6 separate regions of the Homo sapiens genome follow, and regions 1, 3, 4, 5 and 6 are each linked to region 2. Evidence: promoter capture Hi-C in 16 types of primary human blood cells and fetal thymus (Javierre and others, 2016). All regions are on one chromosome and are shown on one strand. The core of a region is centred on a gene start or on the middle of the fragment in contact, and the rest is flanking DNA. Distances in the headings are between cores, read along the strand shown. Region 1 overlaps SLC10A7 (solute carrier family 10 member 7). Region 2 holds the start of TTC29-AS1 (TTC29 antisense RNA 1). Region 3 has its middle 36 kb from the start of REELD1. Region 4 overlaps REELD1 (reeler domain containing 1). Region 5 overlaps SLC10A7 (solute carrier family 10 member 7). Region 6 overlaps SLC10A7 (solute carrier family 10 member 7).

Region 1 (5,146 bases), core at 160-2,659, 620 kb after region 2:
ACGTGTGAGATGCATAAAATGATAAACCTAAAACCACTTGAAAAAAAACTAGCCATCTGATTGTCTCAGTTGCTTCACATTGAGTCAGTTTCTCTACCTTGTTCTAAAGCAAATGAAGACAAATCTCCCCTTGAAGCTAAGAGTAGCTTCTGACTAAGGGAAGGGAAGCACCTAGTAAGCAGTTTTCAAATGCTCTAGAGGTGAAAGAGGTGACATTGATAAACTTCTTCCCCCATTAAGGACTACTGTCCCAAGAAGGCCAGTTGCACTGCTGGTGTGGGACTTCTCAGGCTTCACTGAAGTGAGCTGGAGACATGGGATGAGTTGGGGCAGTCTTGTCCTAGCCAGGCTTTTCCCTTGCCCTTTGGTTCCTTCTTCAGCACCAGCTACTGGGGGTGCTCCTTAAGCGGGTAGGGTCAATCCAGAGTTGGAAAGACACTGGTTCCTTGCTACTCCCTTGCCTATTGGTAACCAAGCTGAAGGAACTTAATCATGTGTTCTACTTAAGAGAATATTTAGCAATAGCAGGTCCTTTGGTTCCCAAACCACACTCAGGATTGACAAGACCAAATCCTTTGGTCAAAAATTAGGGAGCAAAGTTTGGTCCTAGAGGCCTCTGAGTATCTCTGCCTCCAGCCCTTCATGGCCTGGAAGCTCAATTCTTCATAGCTTTCCTCTTTCCTCTAGGTTAGAACAAGCCAATTTACGGTTCATTTTGGCACATTTCACTAAACAGACTGTGTGGGTTTGAGTAACCTGAACCTGTGATTGCACACTTTAAGTTTCCATCAAAGTTATTAGAAAGTAACCTTTTCATCTTACATTTTAAATTAGCGTATAACATGGATGAACTGGAGGACATTATGCTAGGTGAAATAAACCAGACACAGAAAGAAAATTACTGCATAATCTCACTTATATGTGGAATCTAAAAGAGTCAAACTCATAGAAACAGAGTAGAAGGGAGGTTACCAGGAGCCAGGGAGTTGGAGAAATGGGGAGATGTTGACCAAAGGATGCAGACTTGCAGTTATAAGCCAGTAAGTTCTGGACACCTAATTTACAGCATCGCTACTATAGTTAATAATAAAGTATTGCATATTTAAAATTTGCTAAGTGATTAGATCTTAAGTATTAAGATCATACACAAAAAGGTAACTATGTGAGGTGATGGGTATGTTAAATAGCTTTATCATAGTAATCATTTTGTAATATATATGTATATCAAAACATCATGTTGTACACTTTGAATAGATACAATCTTTGTCAATTATACCTCAATAAAACTAAGAAAAGAACAGTAGCTAGCATATAAACAAAAAGAAAAGTGAAGCCATGTTTTATATAATGTTTTTATATTGATAAAATCTACTAAGCCTCTTTTGTTCTTTATTTCTCAGAGAGGGAAAAAGACTGTGCATATAAATATTAAAAAGATACTTTCCTCTCCTAAACATATACTTTCCACACAATAACCCAATTTTAGCTTGATGCATGCAACTGAATCAGTATGGCTGTTTAATAACCATATTCCTAATTTTGATAAAAATCATAGTCTTTTTAACATTTGAGTCTGTCACCTGGTATACATTTACTTGACAATTTTATGTAAGTTTAGTTTGCATGTACCCCTGTGAGAGAAGGAGCAGTAGGAATGAAAGAAAAGCTGAACTATATCGTGTATAGGGAGGGGATTGGGGCCTGGGGAGACTCTTCCTTCTTCTGTTTAAATGTTTATCTTTGTGACAGGAAGGAGATATGGGTATTAGGAGTGTGTCTGTGTGTGGGCACAATAGTAAGCAAGCCTTCTTCCCTTTCCCTTTCCCCAGGGCTGGGCTCTGCGGGTGATGTGGAGAGGTGGAAATAGAGCAGGAAGACAACAAATCCTGCTCTATGTCTGAAGCTGCTACTTTCTGATTTCCTAGCAAAAGAGAGTTAACATTCATAATTCTACAGTATCAACTGTAAATATCTATTCTTATTTTTCCCTGAATGTGGTGCTAATGAAAGTGAAGACCAATCATCAAGGGTGAATTATTTAATACAATAATGTTTTAATAGCTGGGAAGAGACACAAATAGTGGAGATGCCTGTGGCTAATGGATTTCCCTGATAGGAGATAAAAGGCCGATTACACAGCAGAGCAAGTGAAGAACTGGTGCATTAATGACAATTTACAGGTCAGCTCACTTACAGGAGTGATTTAAAATGCACCATCTGTTTTCTAACTGTAGGTTGATAACTGTGATTCTACAGACAGTCAACATCTCTTCATCAAGAACTGCTACCTATTTGTCTTTCTAAGCCTGGTTAGTTTGCCCCATATTATTTTACCAAGTGGACCCCCAGATTCTTTCAGATGAAATAGTTTCTAGATTGAATGGGTTGATAACAGTCAATCTTGCTTCCACTCAGTCTCTCTCTGCCCAGTTAGAGAATTAAGCCCTGATGTCCTAAGGCATTCATTGTGTGTATTGAACTAACTTCTCCCTAATGCATCTACCCTGGCACTAGTTATGTACCATCCTTGGGAGAGTCGAGAAACCAGTCACTCCAATCATTTGCTGTGTTCTGTGGTTTGCCCCTTCCCCTTCCCCTCATCCCCCTCCCCCCATCCTCCCCCTGTCTTTCACATAGGCACAAAAAGAGGAGCCCAGCTTTGATTTTCACTAGTGCCCCCTTCCCCTGTTTCACACTGTACCACCTATAACTAATGTGTAGTAGAGTGTAAAGAGTTAAGTGTGAGGGCTTTGGAGCTACACTTGTGGGTTTAGATTCTGTCTCTGTCAATTTCTAGCTATGGTGACCTTGTCCAGGTTGTTTAACTGTTCTGTGCCACTGTTGCCTCTTGTGAAAATGAGGGTAATAATAAAACCAACATCAAGGGGTTGCTGTGAGAATTAAATTATTCCACATGCAGTAAGCATTCAAAGCAGTGTCTGCTTCTCAAAAGAAGACATACAAGTGGCCAACAAATATAGGAAAAAAAGCTCAACATCAGTAATCATCAGAGAAATGCAAATCAAAACCACAATGAGACACCATCTTACACCAGTCAGAATGGCTACTATTAGAAAGTGAAAAAACAACAGATACTGGAGAGGCTACAGAGAAAAGAGAACACTTATTTATGCACAATTAGTGGGAATGTAAATTACTTCAGTGTCTGTGGAAAGCAGTTCTGGAGATTTCTCAAAGAACTTAGAACTACCATTCAACCCAGCAATCCCATTACTGCATATATATCCAAAAGAAAATAAATCATTCTATCAAAAAGATACATACACTCACATGTTCATCACTGCACTATTCAAAATAGCAAAGACATGGAATCAACCTAAGTGACCATCAACAGTGGATTAGATAAAGAAAATGTGGTACATATACACCCATGGAATACTACACAGACACAAAAAAAGAACAAAATCATGTCCTTTGCAGCAACATGGAAACAGCCAGAAGCCATTATCCTAACAAATTAACACAGGAACTGAAAACAAAATACTACATGTTCTCGCTTACAAGTGGGAGCTTGGATATTGGGTACTCAGGGACATAAAGATGGCAACAAGAGACACTGGGGACTAATAGAGTGGGGAGGGAGGAAGGGGACAAGGGTTGAAAACCTAACTGTTGGGTACTATGCTCACTATCTTGGTGATGGGATAATCCATATCCCAAACTTCAGCATCACTCAATATACCCATGTAACAAACTTGCACGTGTACCCCCTGAATCTAAAGTAAAAGTTGAAATTATTAAAAAATGAAACAAAGCAGTGTCTGTCACATGAAAGTGCACGATAAATGTTACTATTGAGATTATAGAAGACAACTGATTGGGAGACCTGGCTGATGATCCTTACTTGGGTCTGTGAACTAAGTAGAGCTTTGCAGCTTACCTGAATGAAGTTGGAAGAATGTGTTGAAAGCATTCGCAAGCTTTTTCTGCCTTTGTATTACAGTCATTCACTAATTGACACACATTCATTGAGCACACCCTATGTACTAGATTAGTGGTTCTCAAAGTGTGAACCCCCAAGTCAGCAGCAGCAGCATCACTGGGCATCTTGTTAAAAATACCAATTCTCACCACAACTCCCATCCCTCTCCCCAGGCTTTTTGAATCAGACACTGTGAGGATGGCAAAATCAGTCTGTGTTTTAACAAGCCCTCCCGATGTTTCTGATGTGCTAACATTTGAGAACCACTGCCCTAGATGTAGAAAGTGGTCACTCTGCTGGGCAATGGGACTGTAAATGTGAATGACATAGTGTCCCAACCTTCAGGAGCATAGATTTGTAAACAAGAACAACCAAGGATTCCGAGAGGTACAATTCAGATACACAGAACAATGGTTCACAAAAGAGAGGGTGGCCAATTCAGCATTTTTGGAGGATGTGTTGGAAAGAATTCCTGAAGAAGTAATGTTTGAACTGAGTCTTGGAAAAAAACTCAAACTTTTCCAGTTATAAGTGGGGAAAACAACATTCTAGAGGACTGAGTGCAGGCATACTTGGCGATGGACAGGCGTGCACACCGACCTCAGCTTTTAAAAAGCAGCAGCTTGACACAAGGGGTTTTTGTGTTTTGTCTACAGTTGTATCCGCAGTGTCAAGAACATGCCCCTAGCTCACAGGAAGCACTAAGTAACTACTTGAATGATTGAATGCAAAGATCCTAAATTTCCACATACTGAATTTTCATGAATGATTTCTTCTCAGCATAGGATAGTAAAACAAAGAAACCAAGCTAATGGTGAGTTTTCTCCTTTAAAGTACTACATATTTCTGCAAGAAATTAGCCAGGGACTGGATTGTTTGCTTAACATGCTGTATCTTAAACCATGGATTGGCAGTATGAGACATATTACTTCTAAATCTGCCAGGGTGGCTCAATGAAGTCCAGGGCACTTGCTTGATACAACCTTCTGAACCTGGAAACTTCACCTGCAAATTATTGCTGCTTCTCATAAACACACTGATCTTTACAATAGAAACCACAACAGGTTCCTCATTAAAATATGAAGAACCAAATATCCCAAGCAGCTTATTTTCTTCTGCTTTAGTTAAAATCACCTCTGCATGCAGAGTGATTGGGTTTTGTGTGTCTCTAGTCCTGTCCTCACAGGCTGCGCTGTGCCAGAT
Region 2 (4,744 bases), core at 240-2,739:
ATAGATCTTCAGTATATGAAAATGTAATGGGTAGAAATGGAAGAATCAAATCAGGCAAAAACAATGTCTAAGATATATCCTCAAATCCCTCTCTCTACTGCCTTATTCGTGTCTTTAAGATGGTGATCGATATATTTGTGTATACTCATTAATACAATTGATGTACACTGGCTTTGATATCCCATAGTACACATATGCTCTGTCTAGTTTCAAAATAACCTCTCATCATGTACCCCAAAATATGCCAACCTAAACTCACATGCTGTGACTTTCCTCCCAATGCGATGGGTGGAGAGTTCCTACTGTCATCTAAGCATGGTCCCTCTGCTTGTGCTCTGCATCTCATCCCCTTACCTGCTCCCAAGACTTAACCTCCTGCAGTTAAATTTGCTTTTCTCCTACACCATCAATTTCTCCTTTTTCATTGGATCGATCTCACTGGTATTCATTTCTACTCAAACTTTTTTCTTGACATCTTATCCCCTTCCAGGTTCTACCCCATTTTGATCTACCCAAGACAGCAAGAAAAGTGCTGTCTTAATATTTTCACATTTCATTTTTGCCTCAGTTGACTCTAAATAGGTTTCCAGCCCCCATACTTACTGAAATGCCTCTTTAGGGTCACCCATGACCCCTATTTTTATCACATCTAATAGTTATGTTTCTGTTCCCAGCTTCCTAGATGTCTTCACAGCATTTGACCAAGTTGAACGCTCTCATCTTCTTGAACATTTTGTGCTTGTGACTTTCGGGATGCCATATTCTGTGGTTTTTCTCCACACTGGAGCACTTCAGTCTTCTTTGCAGGCTGCTTTCTCTTTCCAAACTCTCAGTGGTGAGGTGCCCAAAGGCTGGGTCCTAGGTGCACTTCAGCCACACTCTCAACCTGGACCCAGTCTTACAGCTTTAAACATTAGCAATAACCCAACGGCTACTCAATTTATAAATCCAGCACTGGCCTCTCCATCAAGCTGAAAGTTTTTAGATCCAATTGCCTCCTTGATGTGTCTACTTGGATATATCACAGACATCCCAAGGTTAATATAACCCAAAACTGGACTCTTGCTTCACCCCTACTCCTCTCTTATCCCCAATATTCGTCCCACAGCCTTTCCTCCATTCAGCAAATAACATCAAGGCAGCCTTGAGTCTTACCTTGCTTACTGCTACCCCCCTCTAATCCATCAGTATGCCCGATCAGCTACAACTCCAAAATGTATCCCGTGTTCATCTCCTGGTCTTCATTGCAGAGCTGCCATCATGTCTGCTAAGATCGCTTAAATGGTCATATAACTGCTCTTCCCACACCCACTCTCACTCCACCACACTCCTGCTAGAGTGGTCTTTTGAAAACATTAGATCATGACATTCCCCTGCTTAAAATCTGCCAATAGCTTCCCATTCTTCACCTGACCTGAAGCTGTGCATGGTCTGGACTTTACTGACCTCTCTGACCTTCTCTCTTTCTCTCCACCACTCTCTACTCCCAATGTGGCCTTATTGCTGACACTTCTTCTTATGCAGGTGTCAACTTGAATGTGACCTCCACAGTGAGCCGTTTCTTGACCTCATAATACAATGTAAATGAGTAAGCAAGCAGGATAAGCTAACATGTAGTTGTCACTGGAATGGCCAAACCCAAGTGATGGGGGTTTATTTTACTTGGGAATGGTAGAATCGTTCAAAGGCAAAAGGCTTCTGGGTTTTGTATCATCTACCTTCACAGAAGAAATTTCAGTATGCTTCGTTACTTTCTAAGTGACTAGATTATTGTTGTGCCTTATAGGTGCATTTAAAAAAATCAAATCCATTGTATTCACATTCCATATTTGATAATGATGATTTGACTTTAAACTTCAAAGTCAAATTTGACTTAGCAGTGAACTTCAAATGGTTCACTGCTACTATCTAACTGATCTTTAACAAGTACAGACAGTCATGTCCGAAGAGTTTCTGTACTTCTGTACTTCGGATTTTTAATTCTGTATAATATTATCAGAATGCATTATTGTTTTCAAAAAGAACTTAAAATATCACTTATTATCATATCATAATTACTTTGAGTAGCTAAGTAATAAAAGAGTCATTTATAGATTCAAATAAACATTTCTAGAGGGCACTTTACAGCTTTAGCTATGTATGTGAGGAAACAAAATCATCTGGGGACAGAGTGTGTTAATCTGCTCAATATTATTTTCTGCTTCAGATATGAAGTTCTATTATGCAGAAGGATATATTTGGTTCAAAATTGTGGGCATCTCTAAGATATTACTTTCTTTCCGAACATCTTATTTTTAGCATCATCAGTGGATGTTTATTGAGCATCACTTTGTCAGCAAGCTTAGTGGCAGTTAGGACTGTTCATTACTATATTCAGTGAGTTTGGGCTGTAAAGAAACAAAGAACAATTTACTTCATATCTTTTTTTTTTTTTTGAGACGGAGTCTCGGTCTGTCACCCAGACTGGAGTGCAGTGGTGCGATCTCAGCTCACTGCAAGCTCTGCTTCCCAGGTTCAAGCCATTCTCCTGCTTCAGCCTCCCAAGTAGCTGGGACTACAGGCGTCCGCCACCACGCCTGGCTAATTTTTTTTGTATTTTTAGTAGAGACGGGGTTTCACCATGTTGGCCAGGATGGTCTCTATCTCCTGACCTTGTGATCCACCCACTTCAGCCTCCCAAAGTGCTTGGACTACAGGCGTGAACCACCGCGCCTGGCCTACTTTCATATCTTTTAAAGCCTTTTTCTCCTGCCTCATTTTGAATTGTATTATACTTACTCAAAGTAAATTAGTGTTTTGCCAGTCCACATTTTGTTTTTTGCAGATTAGGTTTTTATCTTGAATCTCAAAATTTTTGTCCAAAGATGCTTTTATGAACTACAAATATACTTTTTATATGCAAATCTACCTTCTGGATTTGCACAATGCCCTGGCACTCAAACATATGGAGCAAGATGAAGCCATTTATTTAAGATACAATATTTCATAATTCTTTATTGGAAGTTAGATCCTTTCAAGTGTGCTCTTCCTCTGCTTCATTCATTTTTGTTTACTTTTGAAAATGTTTGTGAAATCATTTTGGTTTCTCTTAAAAAAGTTTGCTCTTTGGTAAAGTAATAAATTCTCTATGGAGGTTTGTAAATTAACTTCCTGAAGAAGTCAGTTGCCAAGCAAATGTTTACATGACTAATCTCCAGATGAGACAGAGATAGGTGGGCAGGAGAAGGAAGAACCCCTGTTTCCTGCTAGGAAAAGAAGATTTTGGTGCTCTAAAATGAAGAGAAAATTTCTTCTTTCTCATGAATTTTTTTAAAAATAAGCGATTACAGAGAATGCAGATGGGAAGAGAGAAGGAATTGCCACTTCTTTTTGAAAAAATTCTGGCATTGTCTTCGAGATCAGATCTCTAGGATGTGAAACCAGGAATGAAAAGATCGTTTTGCCATGATTTAAAGGAAAAGGAAGAAAGAAAAGAAAGAGAAGGAAGGGAAGAAGAAGAAAAAGCAGAAAGAAGAAGGGGGAAAAGACTGATATCAGTAAAGTTTAAAATTGGGGAATTTAAAAAATGTAGTTGGAAGGAGCTTTTTTAAAAACAAAACAAGACAGAATAAAACAACAATGTTCACTAGGTACAAAAAAATGGTCTCAAATTTTCACCAAAACCAAATATAGAGATAAAAGAAAAGATTTCAAATGTCAACAGAACATAGAAATGCCAAGTTCTTAGGCGTTTATATCTTTGTGTCCTTTAGGAGTTTGCTTTAAAATGCTATTTTCACATATGGTGTTTAAGCTTACCAGCTCTAATAGACATTAAAAAAAGATGTCTCTAAGAGGAAAGCATGGGAATCATGACTAGCAGCTCTGGCTATTATAGGAGCTGATTCCTTCTGTGGTTGAAAACTTGGCTTTGTTATGTAATACCTGTATTGTCTTAAGGTTACCTGCTTTCTCCAATCTTTGCTTTCCACAACTATTTGGAGAGCATACTAACAAGAAATTCTTACAAGAAGTAAATGAGATTCTCTATATGAAACACGTGTAGACGACACTCAATTCAGACTATTATTAATTATCATTGCTCATTTTTCTTTGGCTTTTAAGCATTTATTAATAGTATAAATAACCTAAATATTTTGCATTAACTTAATGTGTTGATTTATGTAGTGATATTAATTTATCATTTCTCTTTATGTATAGTTATATCTTTTGCTTCGTACTAAGTATCATTTTCATCATGTTCTAAAGGCAGAGTTTTAAATAACATATATTTCAAACTTATAATACTAATCAGTGAGGGGACTTTTTTTTTTGTAGAGACAGGGTCTCACTATGTTGCCCAGATTGAACTTCAACTCCTGGCTTCATGCAGTCCTCTCACCTCAGCCTCCCAAAGTGCTGGCATTACAGCTGTGAGCCATCATGCCCAGCCAGTTTTTTTAAGAAAATTTCAAGTTGTAATAAAAACTTTTCAGAAATGTACAGATAAACTCGCAGTTTTAGAAATACAAAGAATATAGCTGAAGGATGTGGTTCTTCCTACAATAGCCCGTAAACCACAGTGCAAAATGCACTTCTCTATTTAAAAACCATTTGGGAAATTCCTTTTTCAGTGTCATAGGACAAAGTGATAAATAAAAAAAGATAAAAGGAGACAAGCACACAGGTACCACAGAGGATGAATCAGCCAGAACTGTCAGTCAGTGGGATAAACAATGATCCAGCCACATCACTCTCAATGTAT
Region 3 (4,662 bases), core at 450-2,949, 680 kb after region 2:
TCATGCTGGATCATAGGGTCCTCATCCAAATCACCTGAAACGGGCTCTCCCAGATCTCCACCCACTTCTGAACTCTCCGGCATCTCAAACGCCATGGCTGTTCTCTTCTGTGAACTTCATCCACCCAGACATGGAATTCAGCTCCAGTTACTTGATCACTACAGAAGTCTCAACACACTGAAAGTCTGGGGATGTACAAACTTTTTTCTTTTTTTCTTGATATGGAGTCTCGCTCTTGTCACCCAGGCTGGAGTGCAGAGGCGTGATCTCAGCTCATTGCAACCTCTGCCTCCCAGGTTCAAGCGATCTCCTGCCTCAGCCTCCCAAGTAGCTGGGATTACAGGCACTTGCCACCAAGCCTGGCTAAGTTTTTGTATTTTTAGTAGAGATGGGATTTCATCATGTTGCCCAGGCCAGTCTCGAACTTCTGAGCTCAGGCACTCTGCCCACCTCGGCCTCCCAAAGTGCTAGGTTTATAGGCATGAGCCACCACGCCCGGCCTGGGGATGTGCAAACTTAAATGACTACTGTACATCCTGTTCCTGCCCATCTGCCAGCCACCAGCCATCTGGAATTTCTCACTGACCACCCCTCCCTCCCCAAAGGCTCCATCTACCTGCCCTGTTACCTGCTCTCCCCGCCCACCTCCCTTCTTTTCTCTTCTCTCCCCAATCCCAAAATTCACAGAAATGCAGCTAGCTCTGTTCATTCTCTAACTTTCCAAATGTGCCCTAAGATCTACTTGCAATGGCCATGGGAAGCTTTAAAAAGCCATATTCCCCGAGATGGCTATATAACCTGACAAGCATCATCACTTCTACTTCCCTCTCATTTAGGTGAGCTCACATTTCTGAACTTGGAATGAGGCAATATGAGGATTCAGGTATGTCCTGGAAAAGCTGTTCCCTAAATGTCAGGGAGAGAGAAGGGAGTATTTGACTTTTAAGTACAGTAGAAAACAAGCAAATGATATAAATGGCTAATTTATAGAAGACAAAATAAAAACGAATAATAGACATTTTAGAATATTCAAACTTACCATGGATCAGGGAAATGTACATTTAAATGAGATACTATTTTTCACCCATGAAAAAGATTGACAAAAAGTTTAAAGTTTCATAATATTCAAATACTGACAGAGTGTGGGGCAGGGCACTTCTGCCCTGTAGTGGGAGTGTAAATGAGATGGAATTTGTGGTGGGCTATTTAACACTACTATCCAAAGCTTAAATATATGTGCCCTTCAACCCAACTCTTGCATTTCTGGGAGTCTACCCTGCAGAAATAAGTGCACAAGAGTCCACTGACAAGGATGTGTTCGGAGTATTGGTAAGACCACAAAGAACACCCAAATTCCCCGAATCAGGGAAGCGTTTAAATAATCAATGGTGCCTTCTTTAGAACATTTGGACCAATTTAAAGGAGTGAGGGTAGACTGCCTTGGAATAGCAGTATTTTGTTGAGGGGGAGGAAAAAGTACATTTCAGGAAAAAATATGCATTTTTGATCCTATTTTTACAGATCCGATATTTTCATTAACTAAAATGTTACATATCTGTAGGGACACTACATGCTTAAAAAACATTTGGAAGGATAATTATAACTACCATTTATTGAGCTCTTCCTTTATCCCTAGTACTTTTCCAGGCACTGAACATTATCTCATTTTACCCTCACCAACCTTATGACGTAGGTAATATTAACCCTGTTTTATAGATGACAAGACTGAATCACAGACTAAGTAGCTTGCCCAAAGCCACAAAATTATTAAGTAGGAGCATTTTAACCATTTTTAGACTATATTTCACAGTGTTTACTTCAAGGAAGTAGAAATGCAGAGGTGGTGTATAATTTTACATTTTACTTTGATCACATTTTGGAGGGCTTATAATAAGCATGTAACACAAACTGGTGCGACCTGTCCTTCTTCTTGAGGGAACAGCATAAGTCATGTCTAGGCTATTGGACGTTTGTCAAGAAAAACCTCTTTTTCATCATGAGAAAGAAAGAGGAAGGCTTAAGCACAACCTAGGTGGGTGAAGGCAAGACAAGAATCAAATTGTTCTACAAAGTGATGTGAGGGGAACTTGGGGTGAGAGTAGACAGCACGGAAAGAAGGGCTGAGACGTTCAAGAATGGAGAGAAGAGAAGAAAAAAGAGAAATAGAAGCTTTTAGCAGTAGACTTTTTAGCAGTATGGCTGAAGACTGAGGAGGAAAGACACAGAAATGTCTGATGGCAGTAATGGCAAGGGCCTCCTGAAGACAGCGACTAAATACATCAATACACGCAGAGCATTTAGGAGCAGGCCTGGCACATACTTAGTGACCTGTGTGAGTGGTGACGGTGGTGGCAATGGCAGTGGTTGCTATCAGCAGCAGCATTGTTAGTTTAAGTTATTTGCACTTTTTGCAGTTCTAAAACACGTGTGTCCCCTCCCTTCCTCCCCACTCAAAAAAAAAAAAAAAAACTTTAGTGAAAATCTGCCTTACATCAGAGCTTTTTGTTCATTTGGGAGAAAATGAAGTAAAACGTTCAGCATCCACCAAGAGGGTATATAGAGGACAGGAAGCAAGCATTCCAGTAATAAAGACACCAAGTCATAGGCAGGAATTCTGTGCATGAGATGATCAGAAGAATGGAAGCTCCTGGAAATCTTGGGGAGAGAATACTTCCCACAGAACATGGAATTCATTCTCAAACCATTACATCCAAATATAAGTTAATACATATTCAGATGGAATGGGGGATTGTAACGATAGTTGCTACAATTCATACTAGTTGCTCTGATTTGCAGCACTTGCCAATTGCTGGAGTATAAATGCTCCTGACTGGGCTGGTTTCAAGCTACCAGCACCGAAGGCAGAGTTAGGAAGAGATGTGCACCATTGGCTCTCACAAGCTGGTACAGCCAACCCCAGCATACCTCTACACGACAGGCCAGTACTAAATTTTTTACTCGAATTTTTCATTTAATTCTTTCAACAACCCTAGTAGGATACGTACCATTATTATCTGCATTGAACAGGTAAGGAAACTGAGACCAAACAGTAAGCAGGGAATGCAAGCCTCACAACTCTTTTAGTGGTGGAGTTGGGATTCAAATTCAACTTTTCCTGACTCCAAGAGCCCACATGTCTAACCACTAAGTAGACTCCATGACAGCCCAAAAACCTCATAGTTCTTGGAAGATCTTGTTTTCTCATGTGCTAAAATTCTGGAAAGTCGCAATGATTCTGAACTTCTTGAGCTCTGCAAAGGCTGGAGTGCAGTGGCGCAATCTCTGCTCACTGCAAGCTGCCCCTCCCGGGTTCATGTCATTCTCCTGCCTCAGCCTCCCGAGTAGCTGGGACTACAGGCACCCGCCACCGCGCCCGGCTAATTTTTTGTATTTTTAGTAGAGACGGGGTTTCACCGTGTTAGCCAGGATGGTCTCAATTTCCTGACCTCGTGATCCGCCCGCCTCGGCCTCCCAAAGTGCTGGGATTACAGGCGTGAGCCGCTGCGCCCGGCCCTCAATGAAAGTTTTAATACAGGATGTTCTGTCTTCATGTGGAGTGAGTCAAAAGCCCTACAACTCAGAAATTCCAGACAGTTGGAAGGAAAGAGCCTTGGGTTTCTGACATATATACCAGGTCTCAGAGTTCACTGGTAGTAAAAGACAACATGATGAGGAAATGGACCCTGCCCTCCACCCTAGAAATGGGTCATTTCCTTATTATCTGCTATTCTAAACTTGAAATTTTTGTAACGATGTTGACTTGTGCTCATTGCTGGAAGTCTGGACTCTGATTCTGTGTGCTCACAGAGAGCACTGCTGTCAGTGTGGTCTCCTGGGCTGGTTTTGCCAACATGGCTAGAACTTACTCAGTTTCTTTTCCACAAATAAATGTTTACCAAGACTTCCAACTCTGGGCCCCACTGCTATTGTTGTCTCATGTGTGGTGCATTCTGACAATCCCCCTCCCTCTTAGCAGCTAATCTGTCCACGCCTGAGAAGTCTTGTGCATGCTGAAGAAGAAGCAAACTGTCACTTGAAGAGTTCACTTATCTTCTTATGAAGCCAATGTGAGAATTATGTAACATCATAGGGTTGTTATTAGGGTCGAATGAGATAATTCCAGCAAACAGCTTGTTACCGTGCCTGGCAAGAACTCAATGAGTGCCAGCTATGATTGTTATTCAACAATGGATGGGCAAACCATATTGGGTGTGTGGAGTCGAAGTGTGTTGGCACATGTCAGGCTCTATTCTGCATGACTTCTAATCTATGCAAAAGATCTATTATGGTGCCCATTAAACATTACTAATCAAGTCAGGAAGTGACCAAGGTGTGAGTGTCTACTTCATTAGTTAATGAAGACACTGGATTCTGGATTTTAAGATGGCTGTAGCAACAGGCCTCCCTGGCTTCCAGCAGGCCTCCCCAAGAACACAAAGGGGCAAGTGCGTATTGAAAGGTCCTCCAGGCCCACTGTTGCTGCTTGCCTTTTCCTACCTACTGCAAAGAACACCAAGTAGAGATTTTGCCCAACTCCTCCAAATGCGCTGAGTCCAGCTGAGAACCATCTGGCAATGCGGCTGACAGACAGAGCTACCCTCATTGACTCCAATTGCCTAACACCTGTCAGAGAGGAGCTCCAACTCTGGGGCTGCTCCTAGG
Region 4 (4,899 bases), core at 1,136-3,635, 710 kb after region 2:
AAGCTCATTTCTTTTTTGTGCTCCCTGCGTAGCTTCAGGGGACTAAGGAAAACAGCAGAAATATTGTGAGGACTAGTAAATGTTGGGGGAAGAGGTGTATGCTGTTTTTTGGTATTGCAGCACAGCTCTCACTGTCCACCCTGGGGCCTGACTTAATGTGTTAGGTTGAGCCAGACAAAGTGTGTTTGCTGCAACAAACAAAGCAACTGCAAGCGTTCCCTCCCTCTCACTGCTGCGTTATCACATCCCCAAGAACTGCTGCAGTTGGCCACGGCAGGTGTTTATTGCTTGTTTTGCAGGAACAGGAAACTGGCAGTAGTAACTTTTAAGTGAAAATAGATAACTGTAAAAATAATGATGACAACCAGCCTGGCAAATACAATGACAAGCTGTACCTGGAGCAGCTCCTTCAACATCGCCCAGCCTCTGGTGAAGGTTTGGCATCAGCAATCTGGGCTCCATGCGGTCGTCAGAATGGGCGCTGCTATGTGTCTGTTGAGACACAACAGATGATTCAATCCTTGCCCAGTAAACAAAATATGACTGGACTACTGATAAACTGGGGAAAGAGAAAGAGCAGAGCAGTTCACGGATTTAGTTTCCTTTAAATAATAACTCAGGCCAGCCTCACAGAAAAGAGAGAACACACTAACAGATAAAGAGGAACAAAACTAAATAAATAGCAGAATGAGAGAGAGAGATTATATTATTACTCTTTGAGTGACTTCATTCTTTTTAAAAACAAAAACCCCATAGTTGCAAATAATTAGAATAGGAGATGATATGAACAAATCAATAGTCCTCTTGAATAAATACAGTCACTAAAAATCTCATTTTAACTAAAAAGTATCTCCTCAAACTGTTTAGACTCCAATAAAAGGTTTTATCATCAATGTTACTATTAGCCATTCCTGATATAGTTATTATGTCATGATTTGAAGATCTTATAATTCTGTTGTATAATTGTACATGTCTACCCTTATTGTAGATTCTATTGGAAATTAGAGATAAATCCTTAATATTCTAAATAATTTTTTGAAAAGCAATTCTTCAGTAAAAATCACATTCACAAACATTATGCCATTTGTTCTTCCAAATATTTCAGTAAAGGAGGGATTATTGGCAAGTGCCATTTTTCCCACTTTAAGTATTCAGGAGGCAGACATAACAAGGTGATTAATTTGGCCGAAGTCACCCAGAGGCTCGAGACGCAGTGAGCGTCATAGTTCAGGCCCCCAACATGCGGTTTCCAGACTCGGCGGACATTATCGTGCGCAAGCGTTCCCGGAGGTGGGAGATCACAGGGTGACTTGGGACAGGTGTCTCATCAAGTGACTTACCTCGTTTTTTCTGTCAAATGGAGATCATAGCTTCTACACTACTTGCTATGTGGCACGCAGCAACTATGATGGTACATCCAAAAATAGGAATTGAGGTGCTTTGAGAAAGAAAGGTGACTGTACAGGTTTAAGGACTTCAAGAAGCAGACACCCTCTGCGCTGCGTAAGAACCAAAGCCAAGGGCAGAAGCTGGGCACACCCACAGGTAAGCGGGCCCTGGGCCTTCCAAAGAGGAAAAATCCTAAGGCACGTGTTTCCCTTCTTGCTGTCCTGTCTGCTGCCCTGTGCCACCAGGAGGTGGGGGAGAAGGGACACCACAAGCTAGGGCCACCAACCTCCTCTCCCACTGCTCCCCAGAGCAGAGGGGAGTCCTGGAGGGGAGCATGTGAGCTGGACTACCTCTGCCTGCAGGCGCAGTCTCCTTCATATTTAGGAGGGTGTGGGGAAGAGAAACAGAAACACACACCCTTTCCCGAAAGAGAAAAATTATCTTTCTTGGTAAATGCAAGTGTCTGAAAAGAATGACAAAACAAGTACCTCATTTTGAGTACTAATGATGCTTTTAAAGTGCTTACTGTTGCCAGGAACTCTTCTGAGCGAACGTAGGCTCTCTCATCCATATACAACCCTGAGGGAGGTGCTGTGGTTATGCCCATTTATAGAAAACAAGCCAAGGCACAGAGCCTCAAGAAGCTTTTCCTGGGCCCAGGGACGTGTCCATTTGTCCATCTGCCTGTTTCTCTCTTTCTTGGCTCTCTCCTGCCTTCCCCACCGCCAGCCATTCTGTCCTCTGGTCAGAAACTCCTAGAGAGGTTGGCCAAGATTTACCTGTGCCTGGGGAGGCAGGGAGATAACACACTCTAGGCCCATGGACAGTGATGAAGGGATGAGTTTGGGGGCAATATTTTTTTTAGTTTCCCTCTGCATAGGCTCTCCAGTTTAGGCAGCATCCATGACCCTGTCCTTGCTATAAGGTGGCCACATAAGGAGGGGGAAAGGGAATATGAAGTCAGGGCAAAGAGAAGCTCCCCTCTCTCCAAAGTAGAAGGCTCAGTTTCTAAGAAACAGCACTTCACTCTCTTACAGGAACTTAATGTCCCCCACAGGCTGGGCTGGGGCCTTCCACACGAATGACAGGTTTCTCTTCAGGGACTTGTCAGAGTGGGTGACTGCATCAGCCTCTTGAAAACAAGTCATCAGTTTGGAATGAGGAGGAATGAGAACGAAAGTGCCAGCGATTTGATGATCGGACACTCTTCGAGCCTGAAGGAGAAATCCCATGAAATCACGACTGCTTCTCACTGTCACTGCAACAAAAACACCCGTTCAACATGAACACGTGTGACTTAGTTCCGTGTGGTGATTTTATGCAGCTTTTTTCAAAACTAAAAGCTTAAGATCAGCCCCCAGAAAGTGAACAATTCATTAGAGGGGGGTAAAGTTGAAGTCCTATTTCACACCAAAATAAATTCCATTTGGATCAAAGTTATGCGAAAATGAAATAAAAAATAACTAGAAACTTTTTTTCTTTTTATAAATATTGGATTTAGAAATACCTCTCTGAGCAAAACCCAGCTGCCATAAAGGAAAAGATGAGTAAAGTGTGCTATACTTTTTTAAAATATGAGTTTAGGTGAACCCTGGACAGATGATTAAAAAAAATTATTTTCCAAAAAAAAGTATTTGTAAGACATAAAACAGACAAATATTCATTGTCATGGTGAATTCATAAAAAGATGACTGCCTCAAAATAATGAAAGGATACAAACAGAAATAAAAAAAGCTTAGTAATAATTTTTTTTTTTTGAGACAGAGTCTCGCTCCGTCACCAGGCTGCAGTGCAGTGGCACGATCTCAGCTCACTGCAACCTCTGCCTCCTGGGTTCAGGCGATTCTCCTGCCTCAGCCTCTCGAGTAGCTGGGAGTACAGGCACGCACCACCACGCCCAGCTAATTTTTGTATTTTCAGTAGAGACAGGGTTTCATCATGTTGGCCAGGGTGGTCTCGATCTCTTGACCTTGTGATCCGCCCTCCTCGGCCTCCCAAAGTGCTGGTATTACAGGCGTGAGCCACCGCATCTGGCTGCTCAGTAATAATTTTTAAAGCAATTATACATGAGATATTATTTTATACCTTTCATATTAGCAAATGTTAAAATGTGTGGTTGTAAGCAGTCTTGATAAGACTATGGAAAAACTAGGGCATTCATTCACTAGTGCTGGAACTATAAACCATCCAACTTTTTGTGGTGTAACCTGACAACATCTTCCACATTTAAAATGCAGTTACCCCTCTGATACATGCTACCTTATCAGTTAGCCCTGAAAACATAGTAAGTAAAATAAAGCCAGACCCAAGATGACAAATATTGCATTATTCCACTTATGTGAGGTACCTAGAGCAGTCAAACTAACAGAGATGGAAAGAAGATTTAAAGTTATCTGGGTCTGGGCATAGGGAAGGATGGCCAGTACAGAGTGTCCATCTGGGATGATGGAAAAGTTCTGGAAATGGATAGTGATGATGGTTGTACAACAATGTGAATGCGCTTAATGCCACTGAGCTCTGTACAGCTATAATGGTAAAGTTTATGATATATGTTTATAAACACAATAAAAGAAATGCCCTCCAAAAATCATTACTCTTTGATCTAGAAATTTTGCATCTAGGAATTTTCCCCACTGACAAACTTGCACAAATAAATATGGCAAACACTGATGTCCAATACCCAACAGCGATTGTCCGCTTATTCCCTGCTAGCAGAACAGATGGTTCTGCTAACAGAACCCAGATGTTACATTCATGTGGAAGTGGAGACCACCTGTCTTCGGGGAAGTTAGGCCTCTCCTTTTCCCCAGGGGATGAACTGTGATTAGACTAAAACCAGTGTTGGTGATTCTGTTCCCCTTCACCAGATAGAATTCTGGCCAATGAGGCCAGATCTGCTGAGAGAACAGCTAATGTCTAAGGATCAATCTTTTCACGTAAGGCCTTTATTTCAGCTGTCATCCCAGTATGAGGCCTAAAACCATGGCACTCATCCTGAAACTGTGCGATGTCAAAGGAATGAAATCCCAACTCGCTGATGATGGCGGAGCAGGAAAATCGAAAAATCTTAGGATCTAGATGATGTCATTGAATGGCTTCACCCAAAGCAGAAACTGTGCCTCCACACTTAAGAGAGAAAATTAAGTGTCTTTATTCATTAAGTTTCTGTTAATCAGTTTTTCTGATACTTGGAACTAAAACAATCTTGATGCATACAGTGAGCAAAGACATATGAATAAAGATATCCATCAAAACCATTTATGAAAAAAATTTAAAAAGTAAATACCCATAAATAAGAAACTGGTTAAATCAATCATGCGACCTCTAGACAATGGACTGTCATGAAATCATTAAAAACAAGCTCTGTGGCTGGGCACGGTGGCTCACGCCTGTAACCCCAGCACTTTGGGAGGCTGAGGCGGGTGGATCACGAGGTTAGAAGATTGAGACCACCCTGGCTAACACAGTGAAACCCCATCTGTACTAAAAATACAAAACAAAAAAATTAGC
Region 5 (4,632 bases), core at 851-3,350, 590 kb after region 2:
GGATATGAATGATCTCATTACCCAGATAGTGAGCATAGTACCCAGTAGGTTTTCAACCCTTGCCTCCCTTCCTTCATCCCTGCTCTATTAGTCCCCAGTGTCTATTGTTGCCATTTTTATGTCCATGAGAACCCAATATCTAGGTTCCGCTTGTAAGTGAGAATGTGCATTAATTTGCTTAGGATAATGGCCTCCAGCTGCATCCATGTTGCTGCAAAGAACATGATTTTGTTCTTTTTATGGCTGCATAGTATTCTATAGTATATAAGTACCACATTTTCTTTATCTAATCCACTGTTGATGAACACCTAGATTGATTCCATGTCTTTACTATTGTGAATAGTGGTGCAGTGAACATGCTTGTGCATGTGTCTTCTTAGTAGAACAATTTATTTTCTTTTGGATGTATGCCCAGTAATGGGATTGGCTGAGTTGAATGGTAGTTCTGCTTTAAGTTCTCTGAGAAGTCTCCAAACTGCTTCCCACAGTGGCTGAAATAATTTACATTCCCACCAACAGTGTACCAGTGTTCCCTTTTCCCTGCAGCTTTACCATCAACTGTTGTTTTTTACTTTAATAATAGCCATTCTGACTGGTGTGAGATGGTGTCTCATTGTGGTTTTGATTTGCATTTCTTTGATAATTGTTGATGTTGAGCATTTTTTTTCATGTATTTTTTGGCTGCTTGTATGTCTTCTTTTGAGAAGTGTCTGTTTAATGGACTATAGTAGTAACAAGTAGTTAATTTGGTAGGTTGTGGGTCTAATTGTAATGTGTTTAAATATGCTGGAATTGTTTACACTAAAACCAGCAAAAATCATTTGAAAAATAAGAGCTGAGAAAACATATTTCAGCATTCATTGGGGTCTGTTTTGCTAAATTACACTCTCAGTGAATGATCAGCAAATTATGCCCATTTTAAATCTAAGAAATAAGGGAATTGATTTGGTTCTCATCTGTTTCAGGCATTTCCTAATGTCTCAGCATTGATTTTTAAATATGCTTTCAATTTTATAGAATTTGGTTGACTAATATGGCACGGGATCTAACCTGTATAGTAATGACAAAGTGCGACTGTTACACACTCTTTAAAGTAATAGAAAATTATTATATCTTTGGCTATCTCACAATATTTACATGTCAAGTAAATTATTTTATAAAAATCAGGCATTAAAAATTCTACCCAGAAAGTGTTGAACAATGAAGATATACATTCAAGAATGTGTGGTTCAGGAAAATTTACATAAATTTAAATGATACGTTTTTATGTACTGTAGTTTTCTCCAGAAGAAATCTGTATGCTTTCTGAAAACATGACTCTTAGATGTTTAAAAGCTTGTCAAATACCCTACAGGAAAGGTAATAAAGTCATTTTACTTAAAGCAAATCATTTTTTCAAATTTCCTCAAGCACATTTATGTAGGTACTGAGAGAGAACAGGAGTTCTTTTACACGTTTTAAATACACAGCACACCAGCTGCTACCCCAGCTATCCACTAGAGAAAGGGAGAATAACTAAATTTCTGTAGCAATGTGTAAAACTAAATTTATTGAAATCCCAGTGAAAGCTTTTGCTGTGTTTGGTATAATAGGGAAAATTCCATAAGATATCTTAGATTGCATTTTCTTCATGTTAATCTTTATAGTCCTTGTGCTCCCAGGTCAGTTTGTAAACATACTTCATTCATTTAGAATGAAAACTCTCACCTCAGAAGCCAACGAGGTTTGGTAATTACAGAACATTTTATTTCAAATAACGTGACTACTCCTTGTTGTAAACACTGGATCCATTGAATTTGGTTCAGAGAGGTTAGAGCTTGGTGACCCCCATTAGTTATTTTTCCTGGAATATATAAGAAATGAATTTGTATTCTAAAGTGTGTGGTTTTGATGTGCTGATGTCAGCCTTTCTTGTGTCTATATCCAATGCTTTCTCTTAGTTATATTTCTGGTTTCAAGTGCTTTTTTAAAATTTATTTTTCATTTATTATAAGAAGCCAATGTATGTATTGAGGATTACTCATATTTTCTTTCATTTTCTTCCTCTTTTCACCTATCCTGTGTTTTCTAAAAGTAGATAGAATCAAGTGTTTTTGTTCCTCTTAAGAAATCCCTGACAGGCCCATGACACTGGCTACTGCTGTAGCTGTACATTTCTATACATAATTGATGACTTGGGGCTAAGCAGACAGCACCAGTACACAAACAATATAGATTACTATACAGTGAGGGTTTTTAGTCTTTGAATTTTCCATTTTTGCATAGAAATAACTCCTTGCTAAGTAAGAAAAATTTCAGAAGGAATAAGTTCACTATAGTAATACATATTCTTCAGAGAACAAAGCATTTGCCAGCCATAGAAGATTTGGACAGTCTTAAGATTCTAACTTTACAATCCTGTCCTCCACTCCAGCCATGTCTCAACTTAGCAGCACTGGTAACATTCGGTTTTGCTGACATTTTGGTTACTAGTAAAATTTTTAAAAAACAAAGTTTTAGCACTGAGGAAAGTTAAATTTCCAAAGAGCACTTTTTGAGGTATTTCATAATCTCATTGCCCTTTCTGTGTCTTTGATTTCCTGGAAGATGAGAAGGCTGGTAGATATAACTGGTTATCTTTTCATGAAGCTTCTGTGAGAGATTGGTGCCATGGGAATGGTGTTTATTATGTCCCATTCACTATGCCCTGCCTTTCTTTTCCTCTAAGCACCACGAACACACTTCCTTGTCTACAGGCCTTTCACACATGCTGTTCTGACCCCCACCATTCCCTAAACCATTTTTAGGTGCCTTCCACCTCTACCCTTCTCTGGGCCATTCTTACTGATCATTTGGGTCTTAGTTTAGATGTTACATCTTTTGAAACCCCTCGCTCAGTTGGGTGAGGTAAGCAGCCTTTCCTTAACCCCATTATCTGGCCTTTACCTTTTTAGTTTGCTGCAACTAGACCGTAAGATCTTTTAGGATAGAGACCAGGCCACCTTTATCTTTGTTTCCCCCCTCCTCTTGGGTATGCCTATCATAGAGTAGGTATCCAAAAATTATTTGTTGAATGAAATCACAAAGATCCTAATAATATAAAATTGACTTGAAACATAAAAATAATGATATGGCTTGCTAGGTTTTAGATGATAAATTGTTCGAATTTATAGGTTTCCTGGATCTTTGTTTTTCATATTGTGATATATTCTTAAGCATGCTGTGATAATAGAAAAAATAGATTACAATTATGTTACACATTTAAATACTCATGAAACTGTTTTGTAATTTCAAATGACCAACTTAATAGAAATAAAATTAGTTGAAAAATAAATATAGCTGAAAAGTTATAATTGAAATTAAACCGAGTTGAAAAGGGAGACATGTATCTATGTAATTCTGAAACTTAAGGCTCATAGCTTTATTTTGATTCACTTTCTTTTTCAAAAATAGAATTTCTCAGAAGATCAAAGGTTTTCTGAATCCTAACATGTACTATCTAGTTCTAGATATCCAGAAGAGGACATTGTTTTTGTCATTGTTTCTTGGGCTGCCCTCATACCTTCAGAAAATACATTACACATATTGCACATATATGTATTTTTCTGTTATAACCAATGAAACATAAAAAGCTACCAAAGCTCTCACATGAAACTGCTGTTTGTTGTTTTTTGTTGTTGTTGTTTTCTTAATACTAGTTAATTTCAGAACTTATTCCACACAGTTCCCCAATAGAGTTGGTCATCAGTTTGTACCTTAGCTTCCTAGTTTATAAATCAGTCATTGATTTCTATGAGGAATAATTTTGAATTCCAACCTTATAAATGGAGATTGGGCCCATAAATGCTTTTTCATCCATAAGACAACTGAACTACAGTATAGAGTTGTGGGTGCTAAAATCAAACTGTTGGAGTCCAAATCCTGACCTCAAAAATTACAGCTTGACCTTGGGCAAATTAGCTAACCTCTGTGTGCATTGGTTTCTTCATCTGTAAATGGGGATGATAATTGTGCTTATCTATTGGCTTCTTTTCAAAATTATGTCACACTTGCAAAGTGCAAGAACAGTATCTAGGAGGAATGCTTAATAAATAATACCTATTATTCATGTATTTATTCATTCAAAAATATTAAATGGGCCCCTATTATGTCCCAAGCATTTCACTAGGTATGGGAAATACAAGATAGAGTAAAAATAAGCATGGTCCCTTTCCTCATAAAGCTTATAGCCTAGTGAAGGAGACGCAGGCATTAATGAAATAATCACACAAATAAATGTAAAATTACAACTGTGATGCATGCCATAAAGCAGATCTATAGTGCCATAAGAGTGCATATTTAGGGGGAATCTATAATGGCAGAAAGACTTCCTTGATAACTGAAGGAAGCTGATGTCTGCAGGTTGAAAGTGAATATAGCCCGGTCAAGGAATAGACCAAGGGCCCTGTGGCTAGCGTATAGAGAGCCAGGTGGAGAATGGAAAAAGATGGAAATGTAGGCAGGAGCAGATAATACAGAATGTTGTAGACCACAGTTATAATATTCGTCCTTAAAGACCAGTGGGAAACTAATGAAGGATTGCATTTCAATGTGGAAACTGTGTTGTAGTCTCCCAGAGCATAAGAGGTAAGAGAAGGTAGAGAAAAATGACCC
Region 6 (4,717 bases), core at 867-3,366, 610 kb after region 2:
ATGTCCTATTGCTGAGAGAAGCACATTCACAGTTTTGTTGTCTTGCTGTTATTTGGGGCTTTTTGTTTGTATTTTGATGCAGCTAAATCTATCTAAGATTTAACACTCTTTCTTTCCACTAAAGTCATTGAAATACATTCACCTAGTCATTCACATCTGAGGTGTAAATGGATTTTCTGAAAGTTTTTTCAGGAGACAACGAAAGCCAGTCAGTTTGTGACTTGACTTCTTCAGGTGTTGCAATCAGAAAGCTTTATACACCATCCCAATTGCAAGGATGCTAAATCTATGTCTTACCTTGAATCTGCAAGGAGGAGGTAACATCTTTTGCTAGAAGTGCTTATCTCCTACCACTTTGGTTTTATCCATTTTCAGGAGAATTTACTTAGGAAAGAGAAAAGAGAAATAATTAAATTGAGCTGCATATACTCAAAAGAAAATAACATGTTTATTTAATTTTCTAGCTTTCAGTGATTGTTGCTGATGCAGTTTAAATGTTTAGCTCACCCTTTTTACCACTGATATTTGCAAAAACTTGACTCTAAAAAAATGTATCTGCCATATGACATGAAGGCTTACTTCTTAATTTGTTTTATGTTATCAAAAAGACATACTGAGCCTGAAACTCCTCTCAGATTTACTCTTAAAATACAACCCTGAGGAAATAACTTAACAATGCAAAGATTTTATTTACACCATTCAAGAGCACAGGCTCTGGAGTCAAGGGGAGGTTCAATTCCTGGCATTGCTTCTTCCTACTTCACTCAGTCTCTCTGAGGCTCAGCATTCTTACCTAGTAGATGGGATAATATAATAATAGTACCTATGTCAGAGAGTGTGAGGATTACATAAAATAACATAGCTAAATCCTGGGTACAATATCCAACATAAGTACTACATAAATGTTAGTTTTTATTATTTTAATAATAATCATGATGACTTTACTAAAAATTATGGTGCTCTTCTCAAAGTGAATGCCTCCTGGCTGACTCACTTCCTAATACAACTGAAAAGTAGGTTTCAGCATTATACAGTGATTCACTCTTAATGAACCTGAACAGCTATTCTTGAGAAAATAAGAAGGAATATTAAATCCAGAATTAGCAAATCCTTCCTATTTGCTAGGAAACTTTTACTATTTTGGGAACAAATGTTATAAGTCCTTGGAAGAGCTGCAAAGAAACTATCATGTGTCATTGACTATCCATTAGAAGTATTCAGGGAGAAAAACCTGTGGATAACAACACTTTTCTATCTCACTGATTTTCTTTAGTATCATTATGTTGAATTCTTTTTCAGGCATTTCATAAATTTCCTTCTCCTTTGGATCTGTTACCAGAGAATTATTATGTTCCTTTGAAGGTGTCATGTTTTCTTGCTTTTTCATATTTTTTGTCCTTACTGCACATCTAGCATAACAGTTGCTTCTTCCAATTTTATAGATTGGCTTTAGTAGGGAAAGAATTTTTCCTATAGATATATCTATAGTGTTGGTTTGGTAGGTTGCCTTGGCTTTGATTCTGGATGGGCACAGTATTGTAGTCTCTGTATTTCTTCAGCTGTAATCAGCTCAGTGGTGTCTGTTGTGGTTGTTAGTGGAGGCTATGGTGAGGCATTTTGGGGGATAGGGACTCCAGACAGTCCAGTCCATGGACCCCAGAGGTGGTGGTGGAGTGCAGAGTGGACCTATCCTCAGGCCTGGGATGGTTTGCATAGGTTCTGGCAGTAGTGGGCAGAGTGAGTCCCAACACTGTGCATGGGTGCTGGCAGCAGCAGTGGTAGAAGAGGAACAGCTTCTCCTAAGGTCCACCGATGATGCAAACAGGTGTCAGCAGCAGTAGGTGGGGCAGATTAATTCCCAGGCCCTGGAATGTTGTCCATAGGCACTGGTGGCTGGAGTGGCAGGTGAGAGAGGTCTCTCCTCAGGCCTCCCAATAGTCCACACAAGCACCAGTGGTGATAAGGAAGTGTGGGTAAATCCCGAGGCCCCCAGACAACATGAACATTAGTAGCACACAGGGAGGCCCGTCCTCAGGCCCCCACATGGTGCACATGGGTGCTGGTGGGAGGGATGGGTTAATCCCCAGGTTCTCAGACGACCTGTGCAGGTGGCAGTAGCAGGTAAGCCAGGCCTAGTCTTAGTGCCCTAGAGGGTGTATGTTGGTGCTGGTAGTGGAGGCAACAGGCAGGGTGGGCTTCTCTTGAGGCCTCCCAATGGTGTGCACAGGCGCCAGTGGCAGGGAGCAGGGTGGGTCATTCCCTAGGCCCCCATATGATGTGCAGAGGTGCCAGTGCACTTGTGGCAGGTGGGGCTGGCCTGACCTCTGGTCTGCAGACGGTGCCTGCAGATGCCAGTGAGTGGCATATATTGATCTCCAGACCCTCAGATGATGTGCACATGTGCCAGTGCAGGCAGAGTGGGCCTATTCTCAGGCCCCCCAATGGTGCACATGGGCGCTAGATGCAGTGGCACAGGGGTGGGGGCTATCAATCCTCAGGCCCCTGGACAATGCGCACAGGTAGTTGTGGCAGCGCCGGTCGCAGCAGTTATATCATTCTATATTGAACCTTGTTTATAGATCAGTGTCCTCTACTGGATTATAAGCTGTTTAAGCATAGGGACCATGTTGTACTTACTCTTGAATCTCTTGGATGAGCCCAGTACCCAGTATATAAGTGGATGTTTAATTATATGTTTAAACAAATCTGCTTGAAATTGAATGCCTCTCATATAGACTGAGTCAGCTAGATATTTTCATTTTTATGTGGCCCTGTAAAATTTGGAATTCCTCCTAAAGTCTGAACTTAGTACAAGTCATTGAAGGACAGTAGCCCTTCGAAGTTATCAGTTATTTGTCATTTAGCACATTTGGCTCTCCTAAATGTGTTAATGAGAACCTGTTTCATAGATACCAATGGAGTTGATAGGCCACAATACCTGTTTTAATAAGTAGGATTTAAAGTGATTCTTAGATTAAAATATTGTATTCTCTTTGGCCAATTGCAAAAGTGTGCACAATAAAAAATGTTCATTCTATTATTTAATAACAAAACAAGTCTGTCTGTGGATATTCACATGTGTATATGCCCCAGAAAGTCATGGTAGCATTGTTCATTTAAGGTAAGCCAGTCCCTCTTGGGCCACATGCAAAACACTTGAGTGACTGTTATGACACAGGGACTTTCATGTAAATACCAAAAGGACTTTTTTTCTTCCAAAAGTAATGAAGTAGTCCCAGATCTGGATCTTGGACACTGTCTGGATATATAGTACCTCTGTCTATCTGTCTCTCTCTCTCTCTCTCTCTCTTTTTCTGTGTGTGTGTGTGTGTGTGTGTGTGTGTGTGTGTGTGTGTGTGTGTGTGTCTGTCCCTCTCTTTTCTGTCTTAGGCACGCACAACCTCAGATTCTCTGAAATTTTAAAATTCCAAGTAGAATTCATTAATAAAAATCTGAAATGTTTTTTCTGGTATAAATCATAATGAAATGTTGAGAGACAAAGGAAAAACTAAAACGGGCAAATAATCATCTGCTGCTCCAAAACTGAAGCCTGTCATTACAACTCCCAACTCAAACACTTAGTTTTAAAGATTTGCCTTCAAGAAACCTAAAAGCTGGTATTCTGCCTCATTGGCAACAGCCTCAAACTGTTCCCTGTCATCGAAGAAAACAAATCTTTTGCTCATTTCTGCCTAGGGGAGGCAGAGGGACCGAGGTGGTCCTATGTGGCTGAATTAGATGAAAGACTTGCCTTCCACCATGGAGACATGAAGTCTAATCAAGTGAAATGAGTTTTGAGATCCCAGCTCATTTCCTAGGGGAGACCAGTTCACATTACAAAATCATGACATCTCATTCATCACAACTGACGTGGTCTTTGCTCAGGAGAGGACCCCAACTGGGACTAAACCACCTGTCTTCTCTCAAAAAGGGGCATTTTATCCAAGTTAGAGTTGAAAGCCTTGGAGTGAGGAAGCTTGCCAGCCACCAGCTTCTATCTGTATGATCCACGTGCAATGTGGAAGGGAATTTAGGTTTACAAAAGGAAAGATGAACCTAAGGCAGATTGGTGGTTGTGCTTTCAGGCTGCCAAATACAAATAATTGTAATAGAGATGTTATTATGGAAGAGAAAGCTAAGATTGGGACTCTCCCCTCTTTATCTCCTAGATTTTATTAAACAGCAGTGAGAAGATAAGCACTCCTATGCCTCAGAGTTTAAAATGGCAAAGAAAGTGTCCTGCTTTCCAGGCTGATAAATGATCATCCTCTCTTTTATTTCTTTCAGGGCATCGTTATAACACCCCTGCTCCTGCTGCTTTTTGTGAGTATTTTGATGTTGTCTTTAATATATTTTATTAAAAGCTATCTACAACCCTTTAAGAAAGGTCATTAGAACAAAAATGAAATTTGAATTATTTTGCACCATATTTGGAATTGTTGTTCCAGTTTAGCTGTACCGCATAATAATATTCAGATACGAAGAAGCTTCATAATTTCATGATCCAAGAACAGGATCAGGACCCAGTCATTAGGCCTCCAGCTCCTGGCTAAATCATTATATTACAAATAAATGACCCCATGACACAGGTTACAAAAACTGCGCTGCTCTTTATTTTCTCATTAGTAAAACTAAAGTGATTGATAGTGACCCAGTGTTTGATAGTGTTTAACAGAAAGAGCCCTAGGACCAGGGATCAGAGGAAGCTTGGGTTCCA

What was found. Contacts are between HindIII fragments. The CHiCAGO score rates a contact against its expected background, and 5 or more counts as called.
Region 1: a fragment that was not itself captured here is called in contact with the fragment with the promoter of TTC29-AS1 in region 2 in 1 of 17 cell types (total CD4 T cells); the score reaches 5.8 in total CD4 T cells.
Region 3: a fragment that was not itself captured here is called in contact with the fragment with the promoter of TTC29-AS1 in region 2 in 8 of 17 cell types (megakaryocytes, total CD4 T cells, activated CD4 T cells and 5 more); the score reaches 7.4 in megakaryocytes.
Region 4: a fragment that was not itself captured here is called in contact with the fragment with the promoter of TTC29-AS1 in region 2 in 2 of 17 cell types (erythroblasts and megakaryocytes); the score reaches 6.2 in erythroblasts.
Region 5: a fragment that was not itself captured here is called in contact with the fragment with the promoter of TTC29-AS1 in region 2 in 10 of 17 cell types (total CD8 T cells, M1 macrophages, total CD4 T cells and 7 more); the score reaches 9.3 in total CD8 T cells.
Region 6: a fragment that was not itself captured here is called in contact with the fragment with the promoter of TTC29-AS1 in region 2 in 6 of 17 cell types (activated CD4 T cells, megakaryocytes, total CD4 T cells and 3 more); the score reaches 7.6 in activated CD4 T cells.

The regions. Positions count from the first base shown.
Region 1 is chr4:146,308,429-146,313,574 of GRCh38, reverse strand. All of the region lies in intron 6 of SLC10A7 (solute carrier family 10 member 7), which reads left to right. Among named protein-coding and RNA genes, the nearest start is that of REELD1, 96 kb to the right of the region's middle. The HindIII fragment of the contact is 5,069 bases long and covers 1-3,943 here.
Region 2 is chr4:146,930,749-146,935,492 of GRCh38, reverse strand. TTC29-AS1 (TTC29 antisense RNA 1) reads right to left here and starts at 1,489. Exons shown (of 7, transcript NR_188447.1): 1 at 1,156-1,489. All of the region lies in intron 4 of TTC29 (tetratricopeptide repeat domain 29), which reads left to right. The HindIII fragment of the contact is 4,123 bases long and covers 1-2,342 here.
Region 3 is chr4:146,248,000-146,252,661 of GRCh38, reverse strand. No RefSeq gene overlaps it. Among named protein-coding and RNA genes, the nearest start is that of REELD1, 36 kb to the right of the region's middle. The HindIII fragment of the contact is 944 bases long and covers 1,228-2,171 here.
Region 4 is chr4:146,220,105-146,225,003 of GRCh38, reverse strand. REELD1 (reeler domain containing 1) reads right to left here. Exons shown (of 8, transcript NM_001354631.1): 4 at 2,425-2,647; 5 at 396-559. Among named protein-coding and RNA genes, the nearest start is that of REELD1, 8.0 kb to the right of the region's middle. RefSeq lists an enhancer at 1,721-2,920. The HindIII fragment of the contact is 699 bases long and covers 2,036-2,734 here.
Region 5 is chr4:146,345,288-146,349,919 of GRCh38, reverse strand. All of the region lies in intron 5 of SLC10A7 (solute carrier family 10 member 7), which reads left to right. Among named protein-coding and RNA genes, the nearest start is that of MIR7849, 61 kb to the left of the region's middle. The HindIII fragment of the contact is 1,060 bases long and covers 1,571-2,630 here.
Region 6 is chr4:146,325,567-146,330,283 of GRCh38, reverse strand. SLC10A7 (solute carrier family 10 member 7) reads left to right here. Exons shown (of 12, transcript NM_001029998.6): 6 at 4,288-4,323. Among named protein-coding and RNA genes, the nearest start is that of MIR7849, 81 kb to the left of the region's middle. RefSeq lists an enhancer at 194-1,393. The HindIII fragment of the contact is 3,725 bases long and covers 254-3,978 here.